Regions from separate parts of the Homo sapiens genome. Here regions 1, 2, 3 and 4 are each linked to region 5. Evidence: promoter capture Hi-C in 16 types of primary human blood cells and fetal thymus (Javierre and others, 2016). All regions are on one chromosome and are shown on one strand. The core of a region is centred on a gene start or on the middle of the fragment in contact, and the rest is flanking DNA. Distances in the headings are between cores, read along the strand shown. Region 1 has its middle 67 kb from the start of RPE65. Region 2 has its middle 100 kb from the start of RPE65. Region 3 holds the start of LOC124904198 (a long non-coding RNA gene). Region 4 has its middle 83 kb from the start of RPE65. Region 5 holds the start of GNG12-AS1 (GNG12, DIRAS3 and WLS antisense RNA 1).

The links. Contacts are between HindIII fragments. The CHiCAGO score rates a contact against its expected background, and 5 or more counts as called.
Region 1: a contact is called between a fragment that was not itself captured here and the fragment with the promoter of GNG12-AS1 in region 5, in 2 of 17 cell types (endothelial precursors and M2 macrophages). The highest score is 6.5, in endothelial precursors.
Region 2: a contact is called between a fragment that was not itself captured here and the fragment with the promoter of GNG12-AS1 in region 5, in 1 of 17 cell types (endothelial precursors). The highest score is 8.2, in endothelial precursors.
Region 3: a contact is called between a fragment that was not itself captured here and the fragment with the promoter of GNG12-AS1 in region 5, in 1 of 17 cell types (M0 macrophages). The highest score is 6.3, in M0 macrophages.
Region 4: a contact is called between a fragment that was not itself captured here and the fragment with the promoter of GNG12-AS1 in region 5, in 2 of 17 cell types (M0 macrophages and megakaryocytes). The highest score is 5.7, in M0 macrophages.

Annotation. Positions count from the first base shown.
Region 1 is chr1:68,381,718-68,384,844 of GRCh38, forward strand. No RefSeq gene overlaps it. Among named protein-coding and RNA genes, the nearest start is that of RPE65, 67 kb to the right of the region's middle. RefSeq lists an enhancer at 2,343-3,127. The HindIII fragment of the contact is 225 bases long and covers 1,189-1,413 here.
Region 2 is chr1:68,344,301-68,347,663 of GRCh38, forward strand. No RefSeq gene overlaps it. Among named protein-coding and RNA genes, the nearest start is that of RPE65, 100 kb to the right of the region's middle. The HindIII fragment of the contact is 5,529 bases long and covers 1-3,363 here.
Region 3 is chr1:68,417,036-68,420,260 of GRCh38, forward strand. LOC124904198 (a long non-coding RNA gene) reads left to right here and starts at 3,016. Exons shown (of 2, transcript XR_007066164.1): 1 at 3,016-3,086. The HindIII fragment of the contact is 1,329 bases long and covers 767-2,095 here.
Region 4 is chr1:68,364,748-68,368,185 of GRCh38, forward strand. No RefSeq gene overlaps it. Among named protein-coding and RNA genes, the nearest start is that of RPE65, 83 kb to the right of the region's middle. The HindIII fragment of the contact is 153 bases long and covers 1,654-1,806 here.
Region 5 is chr1:67,830,900-67,834,380 of GRCh38, forward strand. GNG12-AS1 (GNG12, DIRAS3 and WLS antisense RNA 1) reads left to right here and starts at 1,389. Exons shown (of 10, transcript NR_040077.1): 1 at 1,389-1,537. GNG12 (G protein subunit gamma 12) reads right to left here and starts at 2,568. Exons shown (of 4, transcript NM_018841.6): 1 at 2,445-2,568. The HindIII fragment of the contact is 10,966 bases long and covers 273-3,481 here.

The DNA of each region.
Region 1 (3,127 bases), core at 51-2,550, 550 kb after region 5:
AATAGGTAGGGGTGACCCAGAGCACATCTTCAGTATCAGTGCCCAGCGGAATACCAATTTCTTCCTAAAAGTGCCATGACATCAGTGAAATATAAATATTATGCCTTTTTCGAATTGCAATGTGTATAACTATTATCCTATGTTTGCCCCACTATTGTATGTTTGGAGTACTGGAAGATCATAACATGTCTCTTTAGTTTTACAGGTCCACAGATAGAGAGGAATTGTGCCTGGGGACTGTTATTATGGGTTACCCTAGAGCCCCATCCTCTCCTGATTTCTACATGATTTACGTGATGGGATTGGGGGCATATGAGCCATTGAGATTTAGATGAGAATTTTTGATTTTGAGTTGATACTCTAATGGGAATTTGGGGAAGACAGTATTCTAAATAGCCCCTTAATCTCTGCCCTCTATTGTCACCCCCTTATTATGTTATGTTACATGAAAAAGTGATTTTACAGATGCTATTAAGGTGACTAATCAGTTGACCTTAAAATAAGATGTCAACCACGTGGGCCTATCCTAATTACATAGAGCCCTTAAAACAAGAGAGTTTTCTCTGGCTTACTGGGGAAGCAAAAGTCAGAGATTCAAAGCCTGAGAGAAATTCAATGTGTCACTGATGGCTTGAAGAAGGAGGAACCTACAAACTGATGAATTTGAGTGACCTCTAGGAGCTGAGATTGATTCCTGGGCAACAGTTGCTAGCAGAGAATGGAGACTTTAGTCCTACAACCACAAGAACTGAATTCTGCCAACAACCTGAATGAGCTCAGGAGAATATTCCTCCCCAGAGTCTCCTGATGAGAACATAGCTCAGCTGACATCTTGATTTTATTCAACCTTTGAGATCCTGAACAGAGGGCCCAGCTACAATATGCTGGATACCTGACCCATGGAAACTATAGCTAATAATCTGTATTATTTACTGTTGTAAGTTTGGGGTAATTTGTTATGCAACAATAGAAAACTAGTGTGTGTGTCTATGTAACACTATGTGTATAATTCTATGCATTTATATTCTTTAAATAGAAGAGATGACATTTTTACAAAATCATATAAAATCGGTCTAGCCAGAGGTTTATAGAACAATCTTGTGAGTCAGTAATAAAATGAAATTTATAGTACAGATAGAATTCCAATTTTTAAAAAGCCCTTAATAAAGAGGGATAGCTCTAGGTTCAAGCTTCTTATTGCTTTATCCTTCTGGGAGAATCTGTGAGAAGGATACCTCATTAGTATATACTGTCAAAGGGTTGAAATCTCAATAAAACAAACAGTTCAACAAGTAATCATTTAGCACCTTATAAGTGCCACTGGACACTAAGGTTAGCACTGGGGGTTGGGTGATTTTTTTTTGTAATTCAGGACTATGAGAAATAAATTTATGTTGTTTATGAGTTGGTATAAGCTTATAAGAGCAAAGGATATTATAAGAGCAAAGGATGCATTCTTAGCATTGGATGCTCATATACCTCATCCAAGGGAGATGAGGTGAGTGTGGCTTCTTGACTTTCTCCTGTTCTTTACAGAACACTGCCCCAGCTGGTGGAGATGGCATTTTGCCTGTCCAGGTTGAGGTCCTTTCAGGTTGCAGGTTGCAGGAGGCCATAAGCAGGAGCTTACCAAGTCTCTTAATACCTCAAATTATGTCACTCCCAACCGCTCGTATAATTACTTTATAAGGCTGCAAAAACTGCCTTTAGTTAAGCTCCATTTCCTTGGTCTAACTAGTGTAGATTTCAGGTACAATTTCTTACTATGCCAGTGGTGCCACCCTTACCACATTGGTCTAGGTTTTAGAATAATGACTAAGCATTTCATATGAGTAGTTATATTAGAATGATGAGGAGTGTAAAATTGTTCAAGATGTAGCAAAGCTTAACATGAAGGCTGGGCTACGGTCCTCAAAACCTAGTTCATAGAGTAGTCCTGGGAATTAAATGATGTAAGGCATTAATTAAATGATATAAGTGCTTAATTCAATGCCTGGCATAAACGAACAACTCAATAAATGTTAGTTGCTATTGTTGTTAATTGCTATGACTTACTTGTTAGTGCCCTTATGGTAACAACTATTATTGCAAAATAATTACAGAAAAGAAGGGCTGATATTGGGAGAAAGAGGAGAGGATCTGGAAGTCCTGAAGAGGCTGAAGAAATAATAGACTGGGAGTAACTGAATGAGAATGTTGGAAGAAAGGTTGCAGTTAGTGAATGGAGTGTTTGAATTTAATATTTAGGAGATAGAATAATTCCAAGTAATGATAGAAGTATAGCAAACTGGGATGGACGTGGAGTATGTGTGATGTGAAATGGGAGATAGGAGAAGAAGGTCATTAACACTAAGGAAGCCAAAGGAGTCTGGAGAATCAGGTAGGGTATCCGTGTGGCTTTGGAACACTCTCAGGATGACAGCACAACTTAGACTACAGGAGGCAATGGAAAACACTAATGTCTTTAATAAAAGAAGGAAGTACCTGAATCCTTGTTGGTAGGATTTCCAAGACTGAGAGTGTCTCTGGATCCTGTCGTTTTAGCAGAACTACTCTGTGCACTATTTATACCCTTGTTGGAGTTCTCTCTACCTTCTAACTTCAGGAAGTGATTTTATTGTGCCAGTTCCCAGAAAGCTGATGGGGCAGTGTATTCATGCCCAAGCTGGCTGTTTGGAATACATCTAATGTACCCATTCTTCCAGCCCAGGCAAACTGCCCTTAAGAGCTACTTGATCCAACATCACGAAATCTGTTCTCATTCTAATTTAGAATGCAGGAACTTGTGTGGTGACTCATATGTTTGAAAAGCTCAAATTAAGTAGTGGTGATCTCAACCATGATTCACTGATGAGAACTGGAAAGTGATTCATCTCCTTTATGTGCTTGTCCTTGGGAGTCTCCAGGCTTAAAGGTCTTCCAGAAACACACTGCACTCAAGGAAAGACACTGGGCCCTCCTGTGGTGGTATTTTAGCAATTACACAGAGGCATTCACTACATTTTTTTACTAGGTCATTTCCTTTAGTTCATTTTATTCCCATCTACAGTCCACAAGATGCTCTTGTGCTGTAATGATTCACTGCCGATAAATGAAAAGTCAATGATACTTTTAGGTCAAAGGTGGG
Region 2 (3,363 bases), core at 241-2,740, 510 kb after region 5:
GACCTCTAGAAAGCCTACTGCATTTAGCAATAAGGAATGACTGGTAGTCTAAAAAGACCTGATTCAAATGAGTGACGAGTAATGTTCCCAGGAGTACTTCCTCATTCCATGGGATGTTAACAGGTATTTGGCAGAAAAATGATTCCATGATTAAATATGCTGGGGAAATATTTAATTAAATTAACGCAGTCTATTATTGTACTTCTCTGGACTTTCAGTTTGCAGATATGCATTGCATTGTGGAAAACAATTCTGAACAGCTGTTGATGTTTTAGGGAACCAGTGTTTTATAAATGGAATTTTGAAAATATTCCACTAAATATTTTGCCCTTACTTAGTTTTTACGTTTTCCTGATGAAAGAGATCTGAATATACTTAAAGGTAGAAAAGAAGGATTCAGAAAAAAGAGTGTGACGATTCAGAAGAAAGGAAATACAGTAATTCTTATAAGGATCAAATCTTATTATGTAAAGGGTTGTTTTTCTAAAAGATAAAATATATGGGAATATGCTTATTAGGAATTTTCTAAAAGCTGCATTTAGAGTATGTTACGTTCCATGTAAGGCAGAAGGGAAAATGAAATATACATATATTTGCCTATATTTACATGAAGAAACAGAATGTATAAATCATAAAACAATAAACCTGGTTATCTACAAGGGATTGTTGGGGGTGGAGATGAATGAGGTAGAGGGAATATAGAAGGATGTGACACTTTTGTGTCTACTTTTTTTGTATTGTTTTGACTTTTGAAAGCACTTAATTTAATTAATTTATTTTAAAATATTTATTTATTTATTTATTTTTGAGACAGAGTCTCACTCTGTTGCCCAGGCTGGAGTTCAGTGGCGCCATCCTGGCTCACTGCAACTTTGGCCTCCTGGGTTTAAGCAATTCTCCTGACTCAGCCTCCTGAGTAGCTGGGATTACAGGCACCCACAACCACACCTGGCTAATTTTTTTATTTTTAGTAGAGACGGGGTTTCACCATGTTGGCCAGGTTGGTCTTGAACTTCCTGACCTCAAGTGATCCACCCACCTTGGCCTCCCAAAGTGCTGGGATTACAGGCGTGAATCACCACACCCGGCCCTGTTTCTAATATTGCAGGAAAAGTTATAAGTATTTCAAAATGAATCAGCTTGAAAAACAAAAATCCTAATTCTTTAAAACAAACAACACTGTTTATTCAGCCAATTATAATATGTCGTTGATTTGGCAAAGGTAAACAAAATTAATTTAGAAAAAAAGAAGAAATCTAATTTCTAAGATGACTAGCAAGTCTGAAGCAATCTATTTTCAACTAGGAAATACAAAAGAAACCTACAACTAGTTGTCTTGTTAAATGAGAAGTGATAATTAATGTTTAGAGTCAAAGCACAAACATCCTCCAACTGCTGTTTTCATGGCATGATATCTTTGGCAAGGCTTTTGCTTCCCTCTTAATTGTGCATTATATATTTGGAGCATTTCTTATTGTATTAAACACCTTTTGGGTGCTTCTCACCTATCTTTGAGGTCTTTGGCCTCTTGTTCCAGCCCCAGCTGTGGAGCAACCTGCTGTGCATGAAGTGGGATCAGTTCCACCGGAGAACAACCTGACATCTCTTTGCCTTATGTCCTCTCTGCATATGTTTCACCTTCTGTTCTGTAGAGACTGAGGTGTGAGACCTCAAGGACATGCTTAGTGTCAATATATGTGCAACTTAATCATATGAGAGGAATTTATATCTTCCTGGGTGAAGACTGAGCCAGTCTGGATGGACTGTTCTATGAAGCAGTTTTTTACATGGCCTGTTGGTGAAAGGCACTGTAAGATCAAGGAATCAGTAGTTTTTAATACCAAGAGATGACCAGCTCAGTAATATGTATTCTTGTATCAGCTCTTACATTTCCCCTGCCTCACTCTCCTTTTCCCTCACTCTTGCTTCCTGGGATTGCATCCTATAATAAAGTAGTAGCACGTAAACTTTGTCTCAGGCACTGCTTTCTGGAGAATCCAGATTAAGACAGTTGTTCAATGATTGTTGAAAGGTATGGGAAAATCAAAGATACTTGTTTTGTGTTTTTATTTTGAGGCTTAGCACCCCCTAGTGGAATTTATTTTTCACTTTCATTCATACCGAGAGCCCCCAAAAGGTTTCTTGTGTACCATTAAGTCTTCTCAGGCAGAAATAGGTCTGGCTAAAACACCAGGAGATAAAGAAGGCTGCATATAGATGCCAGAGTCATTACATATCTCTATTAATACCTGGAGGAGTCCGTAACACAATGAAAAAACTAAGACTAACTCAATCCACATCATGTAATGTGAATGAAATATAAGTAAAAAAAAAAAATCAATTCTGATTGTTTTATAGCAATTCATCTGTTGGACTTTCCAGAGAACCTTCATGAGAAAACAGATTTTCTTGAATGTGTCTGATGTTGCTTTTGCCCCATGCAGTCTGTGTTTTTGTGTCAAGCAGGTTGTTACTGGTAGCCCATAGTCTTGACCTCTGCCAGTGCTCGGAGCTCATTTCAAGTACCCCATCTTTATCAATGAGGATTTCATCTTCTTAAATGTCCACCACATTGAGCCTGTTGTTAATCTCAGAAATTGTGTTCAGCTGTAAGAGATAATTTTATGTTGTTTTTGCTGCCCAATATCCATTTATCCTTTTTGTGGCAATGGTAGCTGATTCTTTGTTGGGATATGTAATCCTCCTCCACTTTCATCCATAAACTTTTTTTTTTCTTTTTCTTTTTTTTTTTTTTTTTTTTTTTTTTTTTTTTTTTTTAGACAGGGTCTCGCTCTGTCACCCAGGCTGGAGTGCAATGGTGTGGTCTCGGCTCACTGCAACCTCCTGCTCTCGGGCTCAAGCACTTCTCCTGCCTCAGCCTCCCGAGTAACTGGGATTACAGGTGCCTGCCACTGCGCCCGGCTAATTTTTGTATATATATATTTTTAGTAGAGACGGGATTTCACCATGTTGGCCAGGCTGGTCTCGAACTCCTGACCTCGTGATCCGCCTGCCTTAACCTCCCAAAGTGCTGGGATTACAGGTGTGAGCCACTGCGCCCAGCCCTCATCCATAAACTTCTTTTTGAAAATGCCTTAAGTTCAGGGTCCGGGGTATAATTAGCATATTTCATCACCACAGTGAATAGTTCAGGATTGAGCATATACCCAAATTGAGACTATAAATGCTGAGGATATTTGGTTTTGCATTTTTTTGTTTGACATTTTGAGAAGAGACTTTCCTCTTTCACTGAACTAGTTCTTGTGATGATGTGAGCCTGCTGCCACCGGAAGCCACCTTGCAAAGTCTGAGAATGCAACCAACATAGAGGAAGTAGAACTGAGAAGTGAAGCCAGCTGGACT
Region 3 (3,225 bases), core at 181-2,680, 590 kb after region 5:
TAGGGCCTACTTGACAGTGAAGGGTGGGAGGAGGGAGAGGAGCAGAAAAAGTAGCTATTGGGTACTAGGATGAGTACCTGGGTGATGAAATAGTCAGTAAAACAAGACCTGTGCCATTAGTTTACCTATATAACAAAGCCTGCACATGTCACATGTACCCCGAACCTAAAATAAAAGTTAAAAAATGGAGAAATTTGGGCACAGAGACAAAAATGCATAGGGAAGATGATGGGATGATTCGCAGGGGAAATGCCATCTAAAGATTGAGAATTGGAAGTATGCTGCCATAAACCAAAGCATGCTGGGGCCACCAGAAAGTAAGAAAGGTAAGAAAGGATTCCTTCATAGGTTTCAGAGGGAACACAGCCCTGCCAACATCTTGATCTGAGACTTCCAGGCTCCAGAACTGTGAGACAATTAATTTTTGTTATTTTAAGCCACACGAATACTTAAGGTATTCGTTATGGCAGTGGTAGGAAACTTATTTATCTATCAATTATTGAGTTGGATTTTTCTGGATCAGCAATTTTCAGGGATTTATTTTTGTGTGTTTGGGGAGGGTTAATGGGGAACCAGGGCTGTATTCCAGCTTCACACCCTAACGACTCTCTTCTGTGCTGCTCCTTTAGGCACAAATTGCTTCCTGCAAATATGGTTCAGCTGTGTGGATCTCTGTGCAGCCCTATCGTTTCAGGTTGTCTTTACCAAATAAATCCAGGAAGACTTAGTCCACCAGCTCTTCTTGCCTCTTGCACCCATTTTTGTAAGCTTTGTACTTGCCATGTAAACCATGGTAATGAAAGTTCATTATTTTTAACCTCAGGATCTCTCTCTACTCTGTTTGCTTTTTGTTTTTTTAAACCTCTTCCCTTATTCCTTCTGTCCTTTCTCAGTTACTTTCGTAGCCCTATGCTTATTTTGAAGTGTTTAGATTATATATGTTATTGCAAATGGAGTATGCAGGGTTTTTGTTATTGTTGTTCTCTTTGTTGCTTTTCTGTCATTTACAGAAAAGCAAGATGCAGATTTCCACAGTCATGTTCTTGAGTGAAGACTCATGAAGAACTTTAAAAAACTTTGCAATGGTTAGGCCAGGCGTGGTGGCTTACGCCTGTAATCCCAGCACTTTGGGAGGCCGAGGCGGGCGGATCATGAGGTCAGGAGATCGAGACCATCCTGGCTAACACTGTGAAACCCCGCCTCTACTGAAAATACAAAAAATTAGCCGGGCGTGGTGGTGGGCGCCTGTAGTGCCAGCTACTCGGGAGGCTGAGGCAGGAGAATGGTGTGAACCCGGGAGGCAGAGCTTGCAGTGAGCCGAGGTCGCGCCACTTCACTCCAGCCTGGGCAACGGAGAGAGACTCCGTCCCAAAAAAAAGACCCAAAGCAAAAAAACCTCTGTAATGGTTAGAACAGAATTAGAGAATGCATAAGACTACGTGGTGACTTTGTATTTTTCTTTTAGCAGATATCTGATTGGAATAGTGGGAAATAATGGTGAGTTAACATACCAGGCCACTTAAAGAGAGCCACTTTGTCAATTTGTGTAGTTACAGAAACATCCCAATCCTGTTTCTCCTGAACACCACCCTACAGTGTCAGCACAGAACAAACCTCTCACAGATATGTCACTTTGGAAGGAGATTTTTAAATGCTGTCAAAAAAGGCTTGAGTCTTGTGAATAAATGGGCTTTCTGTAATTTTTTTGTTGAAAAGTTCAGCAGAATAAGTGCTTCTGATACTTTTTGACCTGGCATCAATGAAATCTTTTAGCAATCACTCCTTCAACGAATATTATATTTCTTGAGTGGGTTTAATGTGCTCAGCTCGTGTCTGAAGTGGGAGTTAAACAATAAGCAAAACAGACATTTCTATTCCCTTTGAAATCACAGTTTAATTTTGTTTGACAGGTTCTTACAGAAAAAGTCCCTGATAGGTTTGTTTTCAAAAGCAGAGCTAATACTTTTATTTCATGTTTCTTTTTATTAACTCCAGCAATAAAATGGTGAAGTCACTTTGTTACTTAGTCTCTGGAAGAATTAAATATGTTCCTATCTAATAGTTTTAAAAAATCCTGATAGCACTGTTATATTAAAGCTTTAGTTTTTTTCCCCTCTGAAAAATGAAGTCCCCACAGGATCCGGAACCAGGATTTAGAACTAGACAGACACAGTTTCAAATCCTGATCTCATCACTGGGAAGTTATCTGGCCTCTCTTGAGCTTTGATTCTCTTGGCTGTAAAATAAAAAAAATAATAAAACCAACCTTTCTAGCTTGGTAGGAAAATTCAGCATGCAAAACCATGTAAAACTCCTAGCATGGCACATAGGAAGAGGTCAGTAAATAGTGTCTATTTCAGATTTTATAATTGTCGTAGTTATTTATGACACTGTACCTTAAGTTAATCATATATTGTATACTCCAGGAATGGCCCCTAAGTGGCCTCCCTTCTACAGTCCTCTATTTTTATAGAGACTTTTTGAAATCATTATCTCTAACCCATACCCTTGTTTATTGCATTCTTCAGTTTTGTTCTTGTTGCTGTTAATGAAGATTTTTTAAATTTAATTTTGTGCTCTTGATTTTCTCTATTTAGTTAGCCTTTGGCCAATCGGTGATACTTAGGATGACTTCCTAGATGAGTAGACCTTGTAGCATAATTCTTTTTCTTTTCTTTTCTTTTTTTTTTTTTGAGACGGAGTTCACTCTGTCACACAGGCTGGAGTGCAGTGGCATGATCTCAGCTTACTGCAGCCTCTCCCTCCCGGTTCAAGTGATTGTCCTGCCTCAGCCTTCTGAGTAGCTGGGACTACAGGTGTGTGCCACCGTGGCTGTCTAATTTTTTTTTTTTTTTGTATTTTTGTAGAGACAGGGTTTTGCCCTGTTGGCCAGGCTGGTCTCAAACTCCTGACCTTGAGTGATCCTCCTGCCTCGGCCTCCCAAAGTGCTAGGATTACAGGCATGAGTCACTGAGCCCGGCTGGATAATTCCTTTTCAATATGTCCTCCTTGCAGGCAGAAGATCTTGCCAGAAGACTGAGAACCCAGGCTTCCAAGATGGCCACAGCTGCACCAAAGATCACAAGGTAATTGGTGGTTGCTTTCGCATCAAAAGCTATGCTGTGGTAATACATGTGAGGTATTTTGAATAGTAGGTTGCATAAGATGATTTTTCACATTTTCCTGTAAGGACTAAAGAGTACAGAAGCAATTCCAAATGGTGTC
Region 4 (3,438 bases), core at 480-2,979, 530 kb after region 5:
CCTTTGGGTTTGATTAATTTGCTAAAGCTGCTCACAGAACTCAGGGAAGCCCTTTAGTTTTGTTTATGCATTTATTATAAAGGATACATGAAAGGATACAAATGAACAGCCAAAGAAAGAAGGTTTGGAAATGTCCCAAGCCCAGGAGCCTCTGTCCCTGTGGAGGTGGAGGGTGCCACCCTTCCAGCAGGTTAATGTATTCTTGTTCACCAATTTGGAAGCTCCCTGAACTCAGCTCTTCTGGTACTTTATGGAGGCTTCATTATGTAGACATGATTGATTAAATTGTTGGCCACTGGTGATCAACTTAAACTTCAGCCTCTCTCCTTCTCTGGATGTGAGATGGGGTGTGGGGCTGTGAGTCTCAACCCTCTAAGCACACAGTAAGTCCCCTTGGCAACCAACCCTTCATCCTGTAGTTATCTAGGGATTTTCCAAAAATCACCTCATTAACATAGTCTCAGGTGTGGTTGAAAGGGGCTTGTTATAAATAACAGAAATGCTGGTTTCACCTTCATCACTCTGGAGCTACTCTGAAGCTGTTTCTGGGAACTGAAGACAAAAGGCCAAATAGTTTAACAAAAAATATCCTTATCATTCTAGTTACTTAGGAAATTATAAAGGCTATAGGAGCTGTGAGCTAGAAACCATGGACACAGCCAAAAATAAATATTTTATAATATCACAAATACTGTCTATGTTTTTCCATTGATATGTCACTATTTGTTTGAACTCAGGCCTGTTAACTTGCTGTGATGCTAATGGCCTTTTGTTTATAATAGACCTAAAAGATTTTCAAATTATGCAACCCCCATTGCCAAAAGCTTTCGGGTGGCCTTTTAAGCAAAATGAAGAAAAATTGCATATAGGTTCACATTCATTTTCCAATGTAAATTGCCATTTTATTAAAAATGGAGTTTATAGCAGGGAAATCATAATTTAAATTAATGAATCCTCAAATGATACTTGTTATTGCCAATTATTTTTTAATATAATATAAAATTTCTGGGTTCATAAATAGCATTCTTTTTTTATTCAGGAAAAGCCATGCTCAGCAATGTGTTATTCATGACTTAATTATTCTATAGATGCTTCATTCATATGCATGCAGATATATCTGGCAGCACTGCATTTTAATGAAGATGCTGAAAGGCAGCAGGCTATAATTTCTGACAGAGGATTCTGTCATGACTGAACAATAGGAGCTCCTGAAGAGGACTAGGAAATAACACAGCCCAGAAAGAAAATTAAAAACCCATTTAAATATTTTAATTATAATCTTCATTAGGGACATTTTGAAATCCTTGTGCACATCAGAGCTTCCATAGTTTAGAAGCTATTTTTGCTGGAAGAGAATAATTTTTAGGAAGGGGGAAATATTTTCAAGATCTCATGAGTTGAGACACAGCCGCTCCCTAGGGGAGCACAGGACCTGGTTTCTGTGCCCATTCCCTGCCCCTCTTTAGGCTGACTTCTCTTTATTGAAGTCATAATGGGGTTAAAATGACCAATCTGTTCAACCTTGCAAGAGACAAGGAAAGGAGGAAGGGAAAGAGAGCCTTTCACATTTGTGTGTGTGTGTGTGTGCATGAGTGTGTCACATACACACAGAGTGTGAGGTTTAGGATTTTAGCACTGGTTGGCTGCACCTCAAGCTTTCATCCTTGGACCCTCCAGAAAGCTCAGGTTAATGAGAAACAATAAAGACCTGTTTCAACGATAGGGATTGACGCAATTTTATTATGGTTTCTCTTTCTCATCTTCTCAGAGAGGGAGAGATGTCAGAAAAATGATAGAATTGTCAAAAGCTTGTGCAATCAGCTAAATAAAAAAACAGGTAATAATTCCACTTTTTCCGTTACAGAATACAAGCAAAAAGAAACCTACCGCTACATTCAAGTATTTTAGGGTAGGTATGAATATGCAAGTGATGGGGCATCCAGGGCAGTGGGAGGCGTGGCACTTTCTGGAAGGGTGAGGAGAAAGAGGAGCAGCTGTCCAGGCACTGCCCTGGGTTTCCTCCTACTCTGTTGAAGCTGCTCTTGTTATGCTTGCCTGTGTGCCTTGCATCTCCACATCCACTGCACACTTTGCTGTCTTCTTACTCCACCTCTCAGCCACGTTGAACACAGATGGCAACCTCCTCTTTCTTCAAACATGCTGCTCTTGTGACGCTTGTGATGCCATAGACTACTGCTTCTCAGCATTCTTGTGTTTTCCTCCCGTTCTATTTCTTTTTAAAATGTTGACCATTGATAAGTAGAATTTAATTTTTGTGTAGTGTGTAAATTTTTAATCCTTTAGCGTATTGTATACATCTTTAATTAAGAAATTCTTCCTTGGGCCGAGCAAGGTGGCTTACACCTGTAATCCCAGCACTTCAGGAGTCTAAAGACAGCAGATCACTTGAGGTCAGGAGTTCAAGACCAGCCTGCCCAACATGGCGAAACCCCATCTCTACTAAAAATACAAAAATTAGCCGGGTGTAGTGGCTCACACCTGCAGTCCCAGCTACTCAGGAGGCTGAGGCAGGAGAATTGCTTGAACCCAGGAGGTGGAGGTTGAAGTGAACCAAGATCGTGCCACTGCATTCAGCCAGGGCCACAGAGTGAGACTCTGAAAAAAAGAAAAAGAAAAAAGAAAAGAAAGAAAGAAAGAAAGAAAAATTCTTCCTTACTTTAAGCTCATGAAGTTCTTCTAAAATTTCTTGCAAGCATTTAAAGTTTCTAGTTCATTGTCATGTTTTGAGGTAGAGATCTGAAAGTCATGTTGAAACTTAATCCCCAGCATGGCAGTATTAAGAGATGGTGCCTTTAAGAGGTGATTGGGGGCCGGCGTGGTGGCTCATACCTGTAATCCCAGCACTTTAGCAGGAGGAACCAGGCAGATCGCTTGAGCCCAGGAGTTTGAGACCAGCCTTGGCAACATGGTGAAACTCCATCTCTACAAAAAATTAAAAATTAGCCAGGCACGGTGGTCGCACCTTCGTAGTCCCAGCAACTTGGAGGCTGAGGTGGGACGATCACTTGAGCTTGGGAGGTTGAAGCTGCAGTGATTGTGCCACAGCACTCCAGCCTGAGTGCTGTGGATGAAAGAGTGAGACCCTGTCTCAAAAAACAAAATAAATAAAAACAAGTACAAAAACAAACAAAAAACTAAAAAAGAAGTGATTGGGTCAGGTGGGTTCTGGTTTAATCCGTTCATGGATTAATTAATGGATTAATGGGTTAATGGATTAATAAGTTATCGTGAGGGTAGAACTGGTGGCTTTAAAAGAAGAGGAGAGACCTGATCTAACACGCTCAGACCCTCTTGCCATGTGATGCCCTTCCCTGTATCACCTCTGGACTCTGCAGAGAATTACCACCAGCAAAAAAACCCTCACAAGATACAGGTCCTTGTCATTGGGCTTCTCAGCCTCCATAATCCTAAGAAATA
Region 5 (3,481 bases), core at 139-2,638:
TCTAATAATTTTGACCATGTACTGCGTGTTAAGTCCAGTTTAAGTGTTTTCCAAAGACAAAGTTTTCATATACTTTCTGTAAAGCCCTACAGATAGAGACCATTATTATCCCCATCTTATAAATCAGACTGAAAAAGGTTAAATAGCTAATATTTTCATCTAAGTCTGTCTGACTCCAAAGCCAACACCCCAAATCACTGTTAAACAAGCTTCTCTTCCAAGTTAGGGCTCAGAAAAATTTACTTGCTTTCACAACTTGCCTTCCTAGGTTAAGCTTAAGCTGACATAAAACTCCAAAACAAAGCAAAACACAATAAATCACATAATTCTAATTTTAAAAAAAACTAATTTGATATTGGCTAACCACTTCCTCAAGTTTTCTGACCATGAAGCCCTTTGCTCTCACACTTTAATAAACCACCGATATTCTCTAACAAGTGACAACACAAATCCACAAATCTAATTGTTAGAGAGCTTTCAAGTAAGACTGGAGCTTTCTGGACAGGAAATTTTTATAATTCTATTTTTTTCAGGCTCTTGTGAAACACAGATTCACATTTTCATATATTTCTACACAAATCTAAGTGCTGTGTGCCCTGTTGGGGGTTCGATATCTAGTAAATTACATGAGTTAAATACAGCAAAAATAGGACTGCATTATTTATAAGGTCTAACGACGCAGTAGACTTTTCAGCATTTTTTGGACTTAAACCAGGGCTTTACGGCGCTGGTTAACTATTAGAGAAGGCAAAGGGACTGAACATTTTATCTGAAAGTCCTTTTATCACTTAAGACTCTGTAAAATTTTTGATTACTTTAAAAATTGTGTGTGTGAATAACGTTAGTTTACTAGAAAAGGGGCTTGCTAGTATATATAATTTGGTTAAAAAAACAAAAACAAAACAAAACAGCTCCTTACTTGAATGTGATTGTTTTGGCAATAGTAAAATTCAATCCCGTCGTTCTAGCGCTGCCTGCCTTCCTGGTTCTCCTAGGTGAGGGCCGCCATCCTGCGATAATTTACTTCGAGAGCTGCGAAGCGCTGGCAAGGGTGCAGTCTGGTGACTAGCACTTTTAAAAACAAAGCCAAACTCCGCTTTTAAAATAGAGAAGGCACAGACGCAGACCCTGCCTCTGACGACATCCAAAAGATTCATTATACACAGCCTATTCAGGCGAAGCTACAACCGCCCCAGGAAATATAAACTGTGTCGGCAAAGACAGCAGGGGGGAGAGGAAGTAACTGATGGGAAGGAAGCTAATCATGTGAAGTTTGTCCAACTCCACACGGTCTAATAAATTCCCGTTTGTTTCCGCTGGGAGCAGCCATTAAACGCGCCCTGACACGTGGGCGCAGGAACCTCCCTTCTACCTCTGGTGTTCAGAGATTTCCTTCTCGACCCACTTGTTTGTATACAACCACGCCCGGCAGGATGACCACCAGATGACCGGCCGCAGCAATGCCTCCACTCAGTCCCAGTTGGGCAAAGTTTCACTCCACTGCGGCGACGTGAACAAGAATCACGGCTTCCTTATCGTGAGTTATGAATGATTTAAGCCAAGTTTACAGGACACACAAAGCGAGGGACGAGTGAGTGACGGGAGGTGCTAAGTGACAGCGTTTTAAAGTTAGCTTTAATTGATATGCCCTAATTAAAATGAAAAACAGAATTCACCCTGCCCCACGGGATAACTGTCGGGGCAATAATTAAAAAAAAAAAAATCACCCAAGACTAAGCCTCAACCTCCCCCTTACCACTTGCAAATACAGTCTGCAGAAAAGCAGCCTCGGGTCCCCACTCGGGGGTCCCTCGCGGGGTGCGTCATATGGGCTCTCCCCTCTGCGACCCGCTATTTCCCTGCTAGACCCCCAGCGCCCAGCGGATTCCAAGGCTGCGCTCCCGCCGGCTGGTCCCGGGAGGTAGAAAGTAGGCAGAGGGGCGTGGCGTCCCTGTCGCCCCCACATGCCAGCCCTCCTCCAACGCCTGACACCACCACAAGCCACGGCTGGGAACACTGGGGGCCTCCCAACCCGGCGCGGGGCGCACGGCCGCAGGCTGGCGAGGAGGCAAGCGAGCTCAAGGGGAGACCTTTCCTTCCACCCCCAGCCCTAGCCCCAGCCACAGCCGTGGGGGCGGCTTCCCGCAACCTCGGGCGGCCGCCCGTCGAGGGCGCGCGCGCCGTTTCTGCCTCTGGGTCTCGGTGTCCCTTGGCCCCTTCCTCCCCCTCCCCCCGGTCTCCGGCGCCCAGCGCCCAGACCAGTCCCCGCCCTCCAGCAGGACACTCTTCCCTCCTTCCTTCCTTCCTCCGCTCCCTCCCTCCATCTCGCTTCCCAGCACCCGGGACTCGGAGGCGGCCCCCGAACTCGCTGGCCGACGCCCCGCGCCGCGCCCCGACCCCGCGGGGACCCGACTCACCACCCGCGCCCGCCGCTTGGTACTCACCCGCCTGCCGGTGCGCTGCCCCGCCGTCGCCGCCGGGACTCGGTCTCTAAGGGCTCCTGGAGACGGCTCCGACCTCTCCTCCTCCTCCTCCTCTTGCTCCTCCGGGCGCCGGCTCCGCCTCGCTGGGGTGGGCGGGGCGGCGGCGGCCCCGGGCTCCTTCCTCCGCGCCGGGCCCTGCCTCCCGCCCGGACGCCCTGGCTGTGCTGTCCCGGGCCGGGGAGCCCGCGTTGTGGCCCCGCAGGAGGAGGGGCGAGGCCTGGCCTGTGGAAGCTCGGTGGACGTCTGGTCGTCTTTGGCCATCCCCCTTCCTCTAATTCTCATGGAGGACCTGAAGTTCTAGGACTTGAGGGCCCCCACTCTACGACCCGCCCCCGCGCGGGGCCGCCCTGACTCCTCGCAAGTTTCCTTCGCGTGCGAACGCCTCGCTTGCCCCTGTGCCAGCGGTCCCCAGGGCTGTGAGGATGAGCGCTGCCAAACCCCTACACGAAAGTTTGGTTCTGTTCCAGAAACTATGGAGGAAAACACGCATAGTAACATTTAAAGGGCCCTGGGGCCACGGAGAGAAGTTTCCCAGAAAGTGGAGGTATAACTGCGGATTATAGAATTTGTAGTACATCCACCCACCATGAGCTTCCCGTCCATCTGCCCCGACCCCCTGAAATTTGTTTCCGAATGTCCAGTACCTGGCAGAGTTCTGCCTAATGAATTAATGGGATTTGGTTGGTCTTTTCTGGAAGGGTTCAAGGTCGGGTAAATGGAGGAGCCATTTCCGCTTCCACAGATTTTGTACTATTCCTTTGGCCATTCGACAGACATTACCAAGCACCCGCTGTGTACCAACTGCGATGCTAAAGGTGATGGGAGAGGTACAAAGATGAATCAGACAAGGGGCTTGCCTTCTTGGAGTCCAGAAAGAGTAAAGAAGCTGGATGTTCAGAAAACCACTCAGCGGACTTCTAGAGTATTCCTAGGTAGCCGCTTTCTTGTTTGACAGGGTGGAGAGAAAAGAGGTGAGGCCAAAGTAGGTCACTTAGAAC